2 separate regions of the Homo sapiens genome follow, and region 1 is linked to region 2. The links are contacts of gene promoters, found by promoter capture Hi-C in blood cells and fetal thymus (Javierre and others, 2016). All regions are on one chromosome and are shown on one strand. The core of a region is centred on a gene start or on the middle of the fragment in contact, and the rest is flanking DNA. Distances in the headings are between cores, read along the strand shown. Region 1 overlaps INCR1 (interferon stimulated noncoding RNA 1). Region 2 holds the start of RFX3 (regulatory factor X3).

Evidence for each region. The method cuts DNA at HindIII sites, captures the fragments that hold promoters and counts their contacts. A CHiCAGO score of 5 or more calls a contact.
Region 1: a contact is called between a fragment that was not itself captured here and the fragment with the promoter of RFX3 in region 2, in 2 of 17 cell types (fetal thymus and naive CD4 T cells). The highest score is 11.9, in fetal thymus.

The regions. Positions count from the first base shown.
Region 1 is chr9:5,622,554-5,628,487 of GRCh38, reverse strand. All of the region lies in intron 1 of INCR1 (interferon stimulated noncoding RNA 1), which reads left to right. Among named protein-coding and RNA genes, the nearest start is that of RIC1, 3.6 kb to the left of the region's middle. RefSeq lists an enhancer at 972-1,191. The HindIII fragment of the contact is 1,557 bases long and covers 1,400-2,956 here.
Region 2 is chr9:3,523,798-3,529,914 of GRCh38, reverse strand. It overlaps RFX3 (regulatory factor X3), which reads left to right and starts at 3,914. Exons shown (of 17, transcript NM_001282116.2): 1 at 3,914-4,168. LOC124902110 (a long non-coding RNA gene) reads right to left here and starts at 3,430. Exons shown (of 8, transcript XR_007061398.1): 1 at 3,138-3,430. RefSeq lists enhancers at 2,970-3,269, 3,530-3,579, 4,157-4,773 and silencers at 3,760-3,949, 4,380-4,469. The HindIII fragment of the contact is 14,491 bases long and covers 1-5,292 here.

The DNA.
Region 1 (5,934 bases), core at 929-3,428, 2.1 Mb before region 2:
CGTTTATTTAATCAGTAAATAAACCACTCACCATGAAAGTATTGAGTTCTGTCTCCTGCCTTTCAGGAGTTCTAAATCTATGTCTTTGAAATCCATTTCCATTCGTCTCAGCCTTACCAGCCATAACTTTAGATGAGAGGAGGCTATCTCTTTCGTGCTGCAAAAGGCTTGGACTTAGTTTTAGAACTGGAAGGGACTGGTGATAGCGTAGGTCCATATTTAGCTTTTGGACCCCAGGTATCACCTTAGCTGTAACTTTCAACGGATTGACCCAGTGGTAACGTCTGAATAGAAGGAGGGTTGAGGGGATATGGTGTGGAATGGGGGAAGGAGGAGTCTGAAATAGAAGAAAGATTTGCTTCTCATTGTCTACCTTTTTTAGTACAGTTTGAATTTTTCCATATGTTTGTATTACTTTTTCAATTAAAAAGCCAGGTTTAAAAAATGACCCCACATTAAAAAGTAGCAACGTAGGCGGGGTGCTGGGGCTCACGCCTGTAATCCCAGCATTTTGGGAGGCCGAGGCGGGCAGATCACTTTAGGTAAGCAGTTCGAGACCAGCCTGGCCAACATCGTGAAACCCCCGTCTTACTGAAAATACAAAAATTAGCTGGGCGTGGTGGCAGGTGCCTGTAATCCCAGTTCCTCAGGAGGCTAAGGCAGGAGAATCGCTTGAACCTGGGAGGCGGAAGTTGCAGCAAACCAAGATCCCTCCACTGCACTCCAGCCTGGGCAACAGAGTGAGACTGTCTCAAAAAAAAAAAAAAAAGTAGCAACATAAACAGAAAAAAGGAAACAAAGAAACTTAATTCATATTAGATATAGCATTGTAGCTGGTATTCATAACCAAATATGTAACTTTCTGTAATTTTTCTAAACATTCACTGCATTCCCTGGAAGGTGATGATAGAATCCTGTATTCCTCAAATGGAGGTTGAAACTGCCTCACCACTCACCAGCCTGTTGCGATCAGATTGTCTCCTTGGCGTCTACCCTCCCCCAGTCCAACACAGCAGCCTGGAACATAGTAAGCATAGTAAGCTGGCAGTATTTGTCAGACAAACCGTGGAGGAAACCCTGATCCAGCTGAGCTACACCATTAGACAAAGAGGCCCAGAGAGGTTTCTTAACTTGCCAATTTCAAATTGTAGAATAACAAAGTTGCATCATACTTTCATCTTAGATTCAGTTATGCACTTGGCAGAAAGAGGAAATGAAAATGTTCTAGTGCAGCAATTTTGCTGGCAGTGTTACTGAATGTTTGTCCCAGCTGTCTCTCAGAGAGTCTTTGTTCTCATGTGTCTCAAGTTTGTCATACTGTGCTCATGGGCAATTTAAGGAACTTCTAAGCAATTTTTATTGCACTCAATTTTAACCTTACTTGCTGACTTTAGAAGCTTATTCCTCTGCCACACTCCTGTGTAGCACTTAAGATTCACAAAATAATTCCAAATGCTTGTCTTGATTTAATTCATAGTAAACATTCAAGGTGAGTGACATTGGTGTGATGTTGTTATTCTCACTTTCTCAAGTGAGGAAACAGGACAGGTGTGGTAGATGTGCCTGAATTCACATGGCCTGAAAAGAACTGATGTTCTTTCTACAGATCCAGTGTGATTTCTTTCTTTTTTTTTTTTTTTGAGGTGGAGTTTCGCTCTTGTTGCCCAGGCTGGCGTGCAATGGTGCCATCTCAGCTCACTGCAGCCTCCACCTCCTGGGTTCAAGCAATTCTCCTGCCTCAGCCTCTGGAGTAGTTGGGATTACAGGCATGCACCAACATGCCTGGCTAATTTTGTATTTTTAGTAGAGACGAGGTTTCTCCATGTTGGTCAGGCTGATCTGGAACTCCCGACCTCAGGTGATCCGCTCACCTCGGCCTCCCAAAGTGCTGGGATTACAGGCGTGAGCCACCGCACCCAGCCTCCTGTGTGATTTTTTTAAAAATTTAAGGTTTGGCTGGGCGCGGTGGCTCATGCCTGTAATCCCAAAACTTTGGGAAGCCAAGGCAGGCGGATCATGAGGTCGGGAGTTTGAGACCAGCCTGGCCAATATGGTGAAACCCTGTCTTTCTGCTAAAAAAAAAAAAATACAAAAATTAGCCAGGCATGGTGATATGCACCTGTCATCCCAGCTACTCTGGAGGATAAGGCAGGAGAATTGCTTGAACCTGGGAGGCAGAGGTTGCGGTGAGCCGAGATCGCTCCACTGCACTCCAGGCTGGGTAACAGAGTGAGACTTTGTCTCAAAAAAAAAAAAAAAAATTAAGGCTTATGGCATCCCTGCATCAAGTAAGTCTATTGTTGCTGTTTTTCCAACAGCATATGCTCTTTAGGCTGAACTAAATTGTGGTAATTGCTCTGGACAGTGAGAGGGAGTGGGGGAAACCTCTAGGTCTTTCTCCCTGGCGGGGAGAAAAGGAAATATCTGACTCTCCAAAACCCTATACTTGAGAGTTCCCCTATTGTGACAAAAATGTTATTGGCTGGATTTTTCAACATCATTTCTTTTTCTTTCTTTCTTTTTTTTTTTTTTTTTGAGACAGAGCATTGCTTTGTCACCCAGGCTGGAGTGCAGTGGTGCAATCTTGGCTCACTGCAACCTCCGCCTCCCGGGTTCAAGTGATTCTTGTGCCTCAGCCTCCTGAGTAGCTGGGACTACAGGCATGCACCACCACGCCTGTCTAGTTTTTGTATTTTTAGTAGAGATGGGGTTTCATCATGTGCCAGGCTAGTCTCCAACTCCTAGCCTCAAATGATCCACCAGCCTCGGCCTCCCAAAGTGCTGGGATAACAGGTGTGAACCGCCGTGCCTGGCTTCAACTTTCAAATATCATATTTTAACTTTATTTTGTAAAATATACTGACAGTTCTCATGCCTTAGGTCTTCTCCTCCTTTTTCTACTAGTTTCCACCACCACTCCTGTCAAAATTTTTGGACTCTGTTCTAAGATTAAGCTTATGATAAAAGTTAGTAGGGGGCCGGGCAGGGTAATCACGCCTGTAATCCCAGCACTTTCGGAGGCAGAGGTGGGCGGATCACTTGAGCCCGGGAGTTTGAGACCAGCCTGGGCAACATGGTGAAACCCTGTCTCTACAAAAAATCAGTCGGCACTGTGGCATACACCTGTGGTCCCAGCCCCTTAGGCGGCTAAGGCAGGAGAATTGCTTGAGCCTGGGAGGCAGAGGTAATAGTGAGCCAAGATCATGCTATTGCACTCCCACCTGAGTGAAAGGAATGAAATCCTGTCTCAAAAAAAAAAAAAAAAGTTACTAGGTGCATGTTTTCATCTATGAAACTTATAAACTTTTTAAATTACTAGAAATAATGTTGGTAAGAGTACACATAAGAAATGGGGATACATTTATACTCTCTTGATGGAAGTATGATTTGGTGCAATTTTTTTTTTTAATATAAGGTTTGTGGTAACCCTGTGTTGAGTGAGTCTATTGGCACCATTTTTTCTAATAGCATATGCTCACTTCATGGCTCTTATCACATTTTGGTAATTCTTTCAATATTTGAAACTTTTTCATTATTAGTATATCTGTTATGATGATTTGTGGTCAGTGGTCTTTGTTGTAACTATTGTAATTGTTTTGGGGTGTCATGTACCACATCCATGTAAGATGGAGAACTTAAGCGATAAATGTTATGTGTGTTCTGACTGTTCCATCAACTGGCAGTTCCTCTGTCTCTCTCCCTTTCTTTGGGCCTCCCTATCCCCTGAGATGCAACAATATTGAAATTAGGCCTGTTAGTAACCCAACAGTAGCCTCTAAGTGTTCAAGTGAAAGAAAGAATCCCCGTCTCTCACTTTAAGTAAAAAGCTAGAAATGATTAAACTAAGTGAGGAAGGCATATTGAAAGCAAAGATAGGCCAAAAGCTAGGCCTCTTGTACCAGTTAGCCAAGTTATGAATGCAAAGGAAAAAAAGTTCTTAAAGGAAAGTAAAAGTACCACTTTGGAGAACATAGGAATGATAAAACAAAACAGCCTTGTTGCTGACCTGGAGAAAGTTTTAATGGTCTGGGTAGGAGATCAAGCAAGCTACAACATTCCCTTAAACCAGACGCAGTGCCTCATGCCTTAATCCCAGCACTGTGGGAGGCTGAGACAGGAGGATTACTTGAGCCTAAGACTTCGAGACCAGCCTGAGCAATATAGCAAGACCCCATTTCTTTAAAAAAAAATGTTTTAATTAGCTGGGTATGATGGTGTGCACCTGTAGTCCTAGCTACTTGGGAGGCTGAGACGGGGATCACTTGAGCCTGGGAGTTCCAGATTACAATGAGCTATCTGCGCCACTGCACTCTAGCCTGGGTGATAGAGTGAGACCCTGTCTCTAAAATGAAGCAAAAACCAGTTTTTAAAAAGCATTCCCTTAAGCCAAAGCCTAGGCCAGAGCAGTGCCCTAGCTCTCTTCAATTCTGTGAAGCCTAAGGGAGGCAAGGAAACTGCAGAAGAAACATTTGAAGCTAGCAGAGGTTGGTTCATGAGGTTTACCAAAAGAAGCTGTGTCCATAACATGAAACTGCAAGGTGAAGTAGCAAGTACTGACGTAGAAGCTACAGCAAGTTATCCAGAAGATCTAGCTAAGATCTTTGATAAAGGTGGCTACATTAAACAACAGATCTTCAGTGTAGACAAAACAGCCATCTGTTGGAATAAGATGCCATCTAGGACTTCCATAGTTAGGAAAAGTCAGTGCTTGGCTTCCAAGCTTCAAAGGACAGGCTGACTCCCTTGTTAGCGGCTAATAATGCTGGTGGCTTTTTTGGTGGAAGCCAGTGCTCATTTACCACTCCTAGAATCCTAAGGCCCTTAAGAATTATGTCAAGTCTACTCTGCCTGTGCTCTATAAATGGAACAGCAAAGCATGGATGATAGCACATCCGTTTCCAGTATGATTTATTGAATATTTTAAGCTCTTGTTGAGAACTACTACTTGGAATGAAAGAGTCATTTCAAACTTTCACTGTTCATGGATAGCACATCTAGCCATCTTAGAGTATTTATGGAGACATACAAGGAGATTAATGCTGTTTCCTTGCCTGCTAATGCAGTATCCATTCTGTAGCCCATGGACCAAGGAGTAATTTTGGCTTTTAAGTCTTATTATTTAAGGAATATATTTCATAAGGCTACAGCTGCTATGAAATGCAGCTATACATAGTGAATCTGCTATACATAGTTCAAACTTTCACTGTTCACGGACAGTGCATCTAGCCATCCTAGAATTCTGATGGAGACATACAAGGAGATTAATGCTGTTTCCTTGCCTGCTAATGCAATATCCATTCTGTAGCTGTGGACCAAGGAATAATTTTGACTTTTAAGTCTTATTATTTAAGAAATACATTTCATAAGGCTAGAGCTGCTATGAAATGCAGCTATACATAGTGGATCTGCTATACACAGTGATTCCTCTGATGGATCTGAGCAAAGTGAATCTAAAACCTTCTGGAAAGGGGCCAGGTGCGGTGGCTCACACCTGTAATCCCAGCACTTTGGGAGGCCAAGGCAGGCAGATCACAAGGTCAAGAGATCGAGACCATCCTAGCCAACATGGTGAAACCCCGTATCTACTAAAAAAATAATAATTAGCTGGGCATGGTGGCACCCGCCTGTAGTCCCAGCTACTCGGGAGGCTGAGGCAGGAGAATTGCTTGAACCTGCGAGGCGGAGGTTGCAGTGAGCCGAGATCGCGCTACTGCACTCCAGCCTGGCGACCGAGGAAGACTCCATGTCAAAAAAAAAAAAAAAACTTGGAACAGTCACTACAGCCTTCAGCAACCACCACCCTGATCAGTCAGCAGCCATCAACATGGGACAAGACCCTCCAGCAGCAAAGAGATTACTATTTGCTGGAAGCTCTGAAGATCATTAGCATTTTGTTAGCAATAATATATATATTTTGAGATGGAGTCTCGCTCT
Region 2 (6,117 bases), core at 2,665-5,164:
ATAGTGGCAAATTATGTTCAGTTTTGAATTACCTTGGCCCCTATCACTCTCTTATCATTTTTAAATAATTATCACATATCCACAGAATTTCAGATCTAGTAAAGGGAATTAGCAATCGAGTAATAAAATTATCCAGTATTCCACATAAGTGCTCAATAAATATTGGTACAAATGAAACCATTCATTTTATATAAGAGAACCCAAGACTCTACATCTCTCTCTCAATTGAAGAAAATAGGATATAATCAAATGAAAAAATTTAAAACAGGTGTGATTTCTCTCATAAAAAGATTCACCACAAATTCAACAATAAGGTGCCACAGCATACATTACTTTTCAAACTCTCATACTATTTTTCAGAAGCAAGCCTATCACATAGCACTATTTTATCTTTTCATATGCATCCTTTCTTTTTTAAAGTATAATAATGAAATAACTTATTAGTCCTTGAATATGGAGTAGATATGAATAGGCAAAAACACTCTAATAGATAATACAGAAATCTACCACTACGAATGTGTTAAAGTAACTTATGAAATACACAATCTATATATATCATCAGGGCTTCAGATTTTTCTTCAAGTAGTTCAGATACAAATGTGTTATTCCATGTCTCTTCCAATCATTCTGATCGGAGAGAAAAAAACAATCCAAGTTAAAACACAACATTCTAAATTAATAGATAATGTTGAACATTTTACATTCAGGAACTATGTCTGCCCAATTTTAGCTTGGTTATGTACCTTTTTTTATTGATCACACAGTGTGTTTTGCACTATAATAGGTGATAACTGTTAGAGTGGTCCAATACTGGGTCTTTTCTGTGACTTCTTAGCAAATAATTTATTTCTGAAACATACATGCAACATATGTGAAGATGCATCTATGCAGCTTTAAAAAATGGCTAAAAAAAATCCTACAAGCAATAACTATGGGTTAAAAGGTTTCTGGGTTCTTTTGTAACTAATTACAGTATTAAACAATACATGCATATAAAATCCGTATTTTCGATTCTATAGCTTGAACTGGTATCTTGGTCATCTGATTCAGTGTGGTGGTGTATTTGTACCTTTTCACACTGCTATAAAGAACTGCCGGAGACTGGGTAATTTATGAAGAAAAGAGGTTTAACTGACTCACAGTTCTGCAGGCTTAACAGGAAGCATGACTGGGAGGTCTCACGGAAACTTACCATTATGGCGGAAGGCGAAGGGTACAAGGACTTTCTTCACATTGTGGCAGGTGAGAGAGGGGTAGTGGTAAATATTTTTAAACAAGCAGATCTCGTGAGAAGTCACTCTTGAAACAGCACTAGTGGGATGGTGCTAAACCATCAGAAACTGCCCCCAGGATCCAATCATCTCCCACAGGGCCCCTCCTTCAACACTTTCGGATTACGATTTCACATGAGAGTTGGGTGGGGACACAAAGCCAAACCCTATCAGGCAGTAACACTAACATTTCAAATATTAACCTCAATATGGTTAGAATTGTATCATCATCAAGTATCCTAAAACATGGGAAAATATTCTAAATTCTAAATTTTCAAGAATTAACTTCAGGAAATTTATCTATTCCTAACTCTGGAAAAGACCAAATCTGTAAGGCAAAAAAAAAAAAAAAAAAAAAAAAAAAAAATTTAAGCAGCTTAAAACTGATTCTATAATGTCCTAGCACAAGGGTTGCACTTATTTTTTAATAGTCCCTCGAAGTACCTATTTATACTCTTGAGATACAGTTTTGCACAAGGTTCACTATGTGGTTTTCTTGCCTGCAGATTAAGAGCAATAAATTAAAAGGGCGGTAAGGATAATAGAACTATGTTCACTGACAAAAATAAAAAGCAACAGCTGACAATGAAAGACGGGACAGGCAAACTATAACAGACAATGGAATTTAAAAAAACAAAGCTATTCAGAGAGCCATGTAGTGTGAACATACAGCCCTACACACCATTATAGGAATGAGGACTTTATCAGTAAATATAATAAAGAGAATATTCATAACGACTACCAGTTTTCATAAAGCTGGAACGTATACCTCATTTCCCATCTGTATGTCAAATGGGACCCACACTGGTCACCACACAATCATTTGTCTGACTAGAAGCCCTTACTACCACAGTGGGTCAGGAAACCTTTTAGCTTTAGCACTAGGCTCACCACTGTTCACTACTGCAACACATTATTATTGTAAGAACATCTCTAACTCATGAGATTATCAAAGGCAACAATATTACTTTTAAAAACGTACCCAAAGTAGCTGGTTCCTAAAACAAGGTAACCTTGTATTCTATGGCACGCAGCCATAAACTAAAACCACCGACTTTTAGGACTCTCGGCCTGTTTTTCCTCAAATGCGAATATTACCTAACACTGGTGTTGTTGGGATTACATGAGATAATGTATGTAAAACACTTAGCACCAGTTCTGGGACACAGAATGAGCTCAGTATTATTTTAGCGCTGGTGAACGCATGCCGGCCCAAATCCCTTACTTGCAGGTGCAAAAATTAAGCCTCAAGAGGAGAACTGACTTCCTAAGGCTCTACTTCTACTATGTCATTGTCCTGGTTAAGCAGCTTAGCGGCAAATGTTGGGAGATTTTGGGTATTGGCAGGGCCTGGGGGCATGTGCCTGCTGGACTCGAGTCTGCAGAGAATTGGAGGAGTCTGTTTGAACCATGAGGCATTACAGGCTGTGCCTTATCAACGGGTGTTTGAGATGGCAGGTTGTGTTAACAACATTCAACACAGACGGAAGCCATTCGTCTATCTCAATACAGCCACAAACAGCAAGACCCTCAGCTACAGTAGGCTGAGTAACGGGGGATGAGAGCACGGCAGGTAACAGGATCCGGGCTTGAGCTCAACTCCCAGTTCGGTCTTTAAAGAGGGGTGAGCACTTAAGGGCTGAAACTAACAGAACTAGAAACTAACAGGATGGTATCGCAGGCAGGTGTAAGCTACCCCGCCCCTCTACGCCTTCCGTCGAGGGGAACCGCCAAATGCGCTTTCTCAGCCTCCGGGCAGGGCAATTTCTTGCTCTCTACAGGCACTTACTCCCATCCCTTGTAGATAGGGAGTGATGACCTCGCTTTTTCGTTATGGAGTGAGGGCCGGACACGCTTGGACCTCACCTCTCCGCGCCACGCTGCGGCGGCACCGCGGGAGGCCGACTCGCGCCCACGCACACCCCACGCTCGCCTTCTCTAAGATGGCGGCAGAGGCAGCTCGCTCACGCCCCGCCGCCCGCGCTCCTCCACAAGTCGTGCCCTCAGGAGGCGGGAGCGGGTGAGAGCGCGGAAAGCAGGAGGGCGAGAGTGACGCGGACCCTCCAGTCTAGCGCAGGCCGCGGAGCCCTGAAGCGTCCAGGAAAAGGAAAAGCCAGGAGGCTGACGCTACCAGGAACACCGCCGGCGCCTCAGAAACTAAAAAGCGGCGGCACATCCGGGCCCCTCTGCCCGCCCCGCCCCGGAAGTAACGTATCGGGCAGGGCGGGGGCCGCTCTTCAAAGTGGATTCTTCCCTCGCCATAGCTCGTTTCTTCACAAAGTGCCTGGAATCACCCTCGCCACCCCCTCCCCCGGGTTAGCCGTTACTCTCTCGTGGCTCCGGGACGTCTCTGTACAAAGCTGGCTGCTGGGACAGGCAGCCCTCGTTTCACAGATAGTACCCCTCGCACCACGACTCCTGGGCCTCGCCAGCGCGTGTAGTAACGTCCCTCCGAGAGGACTCTTGGTGACCTCAGCCCCAGCCAAGCATAGGCGCACCTCTTCGGAGTCCTGCGGTGGAATCCCGGCCTCGTGCCCCGTCACCCCGCCGCCCCGCCACCCCACCCGGGTTTGGGGGCCGTCAGTCACAGCGCTGCGCCCTCCCCTTCCGGCGGCTTGGCCGGGCCCGCCTCCTCCCCTCTTCCCTCCCCCACCCCTCCCCGTGCGAGTGTCTCCCTCTCCCTCTCGCTCTCTCTCTCTCTCCCTCTCTCTCTCTCTTTTGTGAGTTATAGCAACCGTTGCCTTGTGAATCAAGCGCCATAGTCACCGTAGTCCTGGCGACTGTTACCCATCAACAACAACTACTCCTCTCCTCCTCCTCCTCCTCTTCCTCCTCCTCCTCCCCACCACCACCATCTCCATCACCCACCAACAACACCACAATAATCCACAGCCAAGGTGAATATTCTTCGGTCTCTACATGTGTGTGGGAGCGTGTGGCTGCGTGTGAACGCGTGTGTCCGTGCGTGTGTGTGTTCGTGTGTGCGAGCCGAGTGTGGCTGTGCTGGGGTCTCACTCCTGACACGGGGGCTGCCGCTGCGGCGCCGCCGCCGAGGGGCTCTGTTCCCCGGGCTTGTTTACAATGGACCCTGCGCGCCGCGGCTGGGTCGGGGGTGTGGGCGCCGCGCCGCCCGCCGGCCCCGGCCCTGCGCCGGCCGCACTTCAGGGATGGAGCGGGAGCTTGGGGGGCTGCGAGCCGAGCGGGAGAGGGAGCCACAGTTTTCCGATGCGGATGCTGGATCTTTCCCTTAGGTCTGGTCTGAGGAGGAGGGTCAGGTGAAGAGATAAGAATTTGTTCTTTCTTTAATTTTCTTCTTTTCCAACGCTGCTGTTTCCTGCTTCTTTCAAAGCCGAAATAGACAACAGTGTGCAAGGGGGGGACCCAAGAGGTGGTGTTTTGTTGTTGTTGTTGTTCACTTGTGGGGCCTTGTTATGGGTTTTGTTATTTTTAATCCTCATACGTTGGTGAACTTTTCCCACCGCCCATTCCCTTCATTTTTGCCCCTCTTTGCCTGGTGCTGAATGGGCTGCTCTTCTTTCACCATCATCAGCTTCATGGTTTTCTTTTTTCTTTTTAAAACTGTATTTTCTTTGTGCGGCAAACAGTCTTAACATCCATTCAGCACTCTTCCCTCCCCCTCTTTCTCCCCCCCCCCACACACCCCTTGCACACATATTGAAACCTGGGGCCTGTTCGTTGGGCCCTCTTTGCTGTACTGGGAAAGATGTTTTTCTTTTTTAAAGTCTGTCTCCTCTCTCTTCTTTGGTGTGTGTGTGTGTGTGTGTGTGTGTGTGTGTGTGTGTGTGTGTGTGTGTGCTTGTGATTTAAACCGGATGCAGGGCATCTGTGATACTTGGGTTAGTAGTTATTGACAGTGCTTTATCCTTCATGTGGAGGTGGGAGGGGGAGTAGTGAGGTTCCGTTTCACTTTGATGATCCTCCTTCCCCGCAGTAGAGTGTTAACAATTTTCATTGTGATTATGAGACTTTGTGATGAACAGGGAAGGGACACAAGGAAGCTTTGTGAGAACTCAGTTCACAGTGTTATTTGTGACAGTTATGGTACTTTAAGAGTTTTTTTTTTTTTAATCTCCTCATTTTCCTTTGAGAGTTGAAATTCAAGTCAAGTTCATAAAGAATGTATGAAGGTTCTCAACTTGAAACGTGTGTATATTTCACTTTCTTTCTGGTTAAGATCTAGGCATGTGTGTACTTAACATATTCTTTTTATTTACTTTTTGATTTTCTTTGGACAGTGACTTGAACCTGCTCAGGAGAGAGAACTTTTTCCTTTTTAAGTATTTCTTTTAAAAATTATTTTTCTCTGTAGATTTGAATACTTATTAGTCCTTATATAGTAGGTTCTTGGTTAACGTTAACCCAGTTTTACAGATCCCCTAAATTTGTTCATTTTTTTCAGCTTAACTTTTAGTTAATAGATTTATCAGTAGAGTTTTGATAATGAATGTGTGCTAAAACAAATATAATGTACTATTGTAGTTGCACATATTGAAGTTTTAAATTTACAGTTTTAAAATGCTTATTCAAATAGTCTTCTTTCTAACAGCAAACATATATTGATTTAACTGACACAGCAGCTTGTGAATAATGTGACAGTACTAATTATTCTTGAGATTGTCAACGAGCAGGGTGGGTAATTATAATGCTATTAAGGCTAATATTTTGTAAAATAAGAGTTGGGATTTTAAAAAAACTTTTTCAATTCATTTCCTTGTGATTGCTATTTTAAATGAAGACGATATTTTGTTCTGAAAGAAGTCTTTCTCAGAGCACTCAGATTTGTTTATAATTATTCCTCCTCTCCCCAAACTGGGTTCCATGCAAA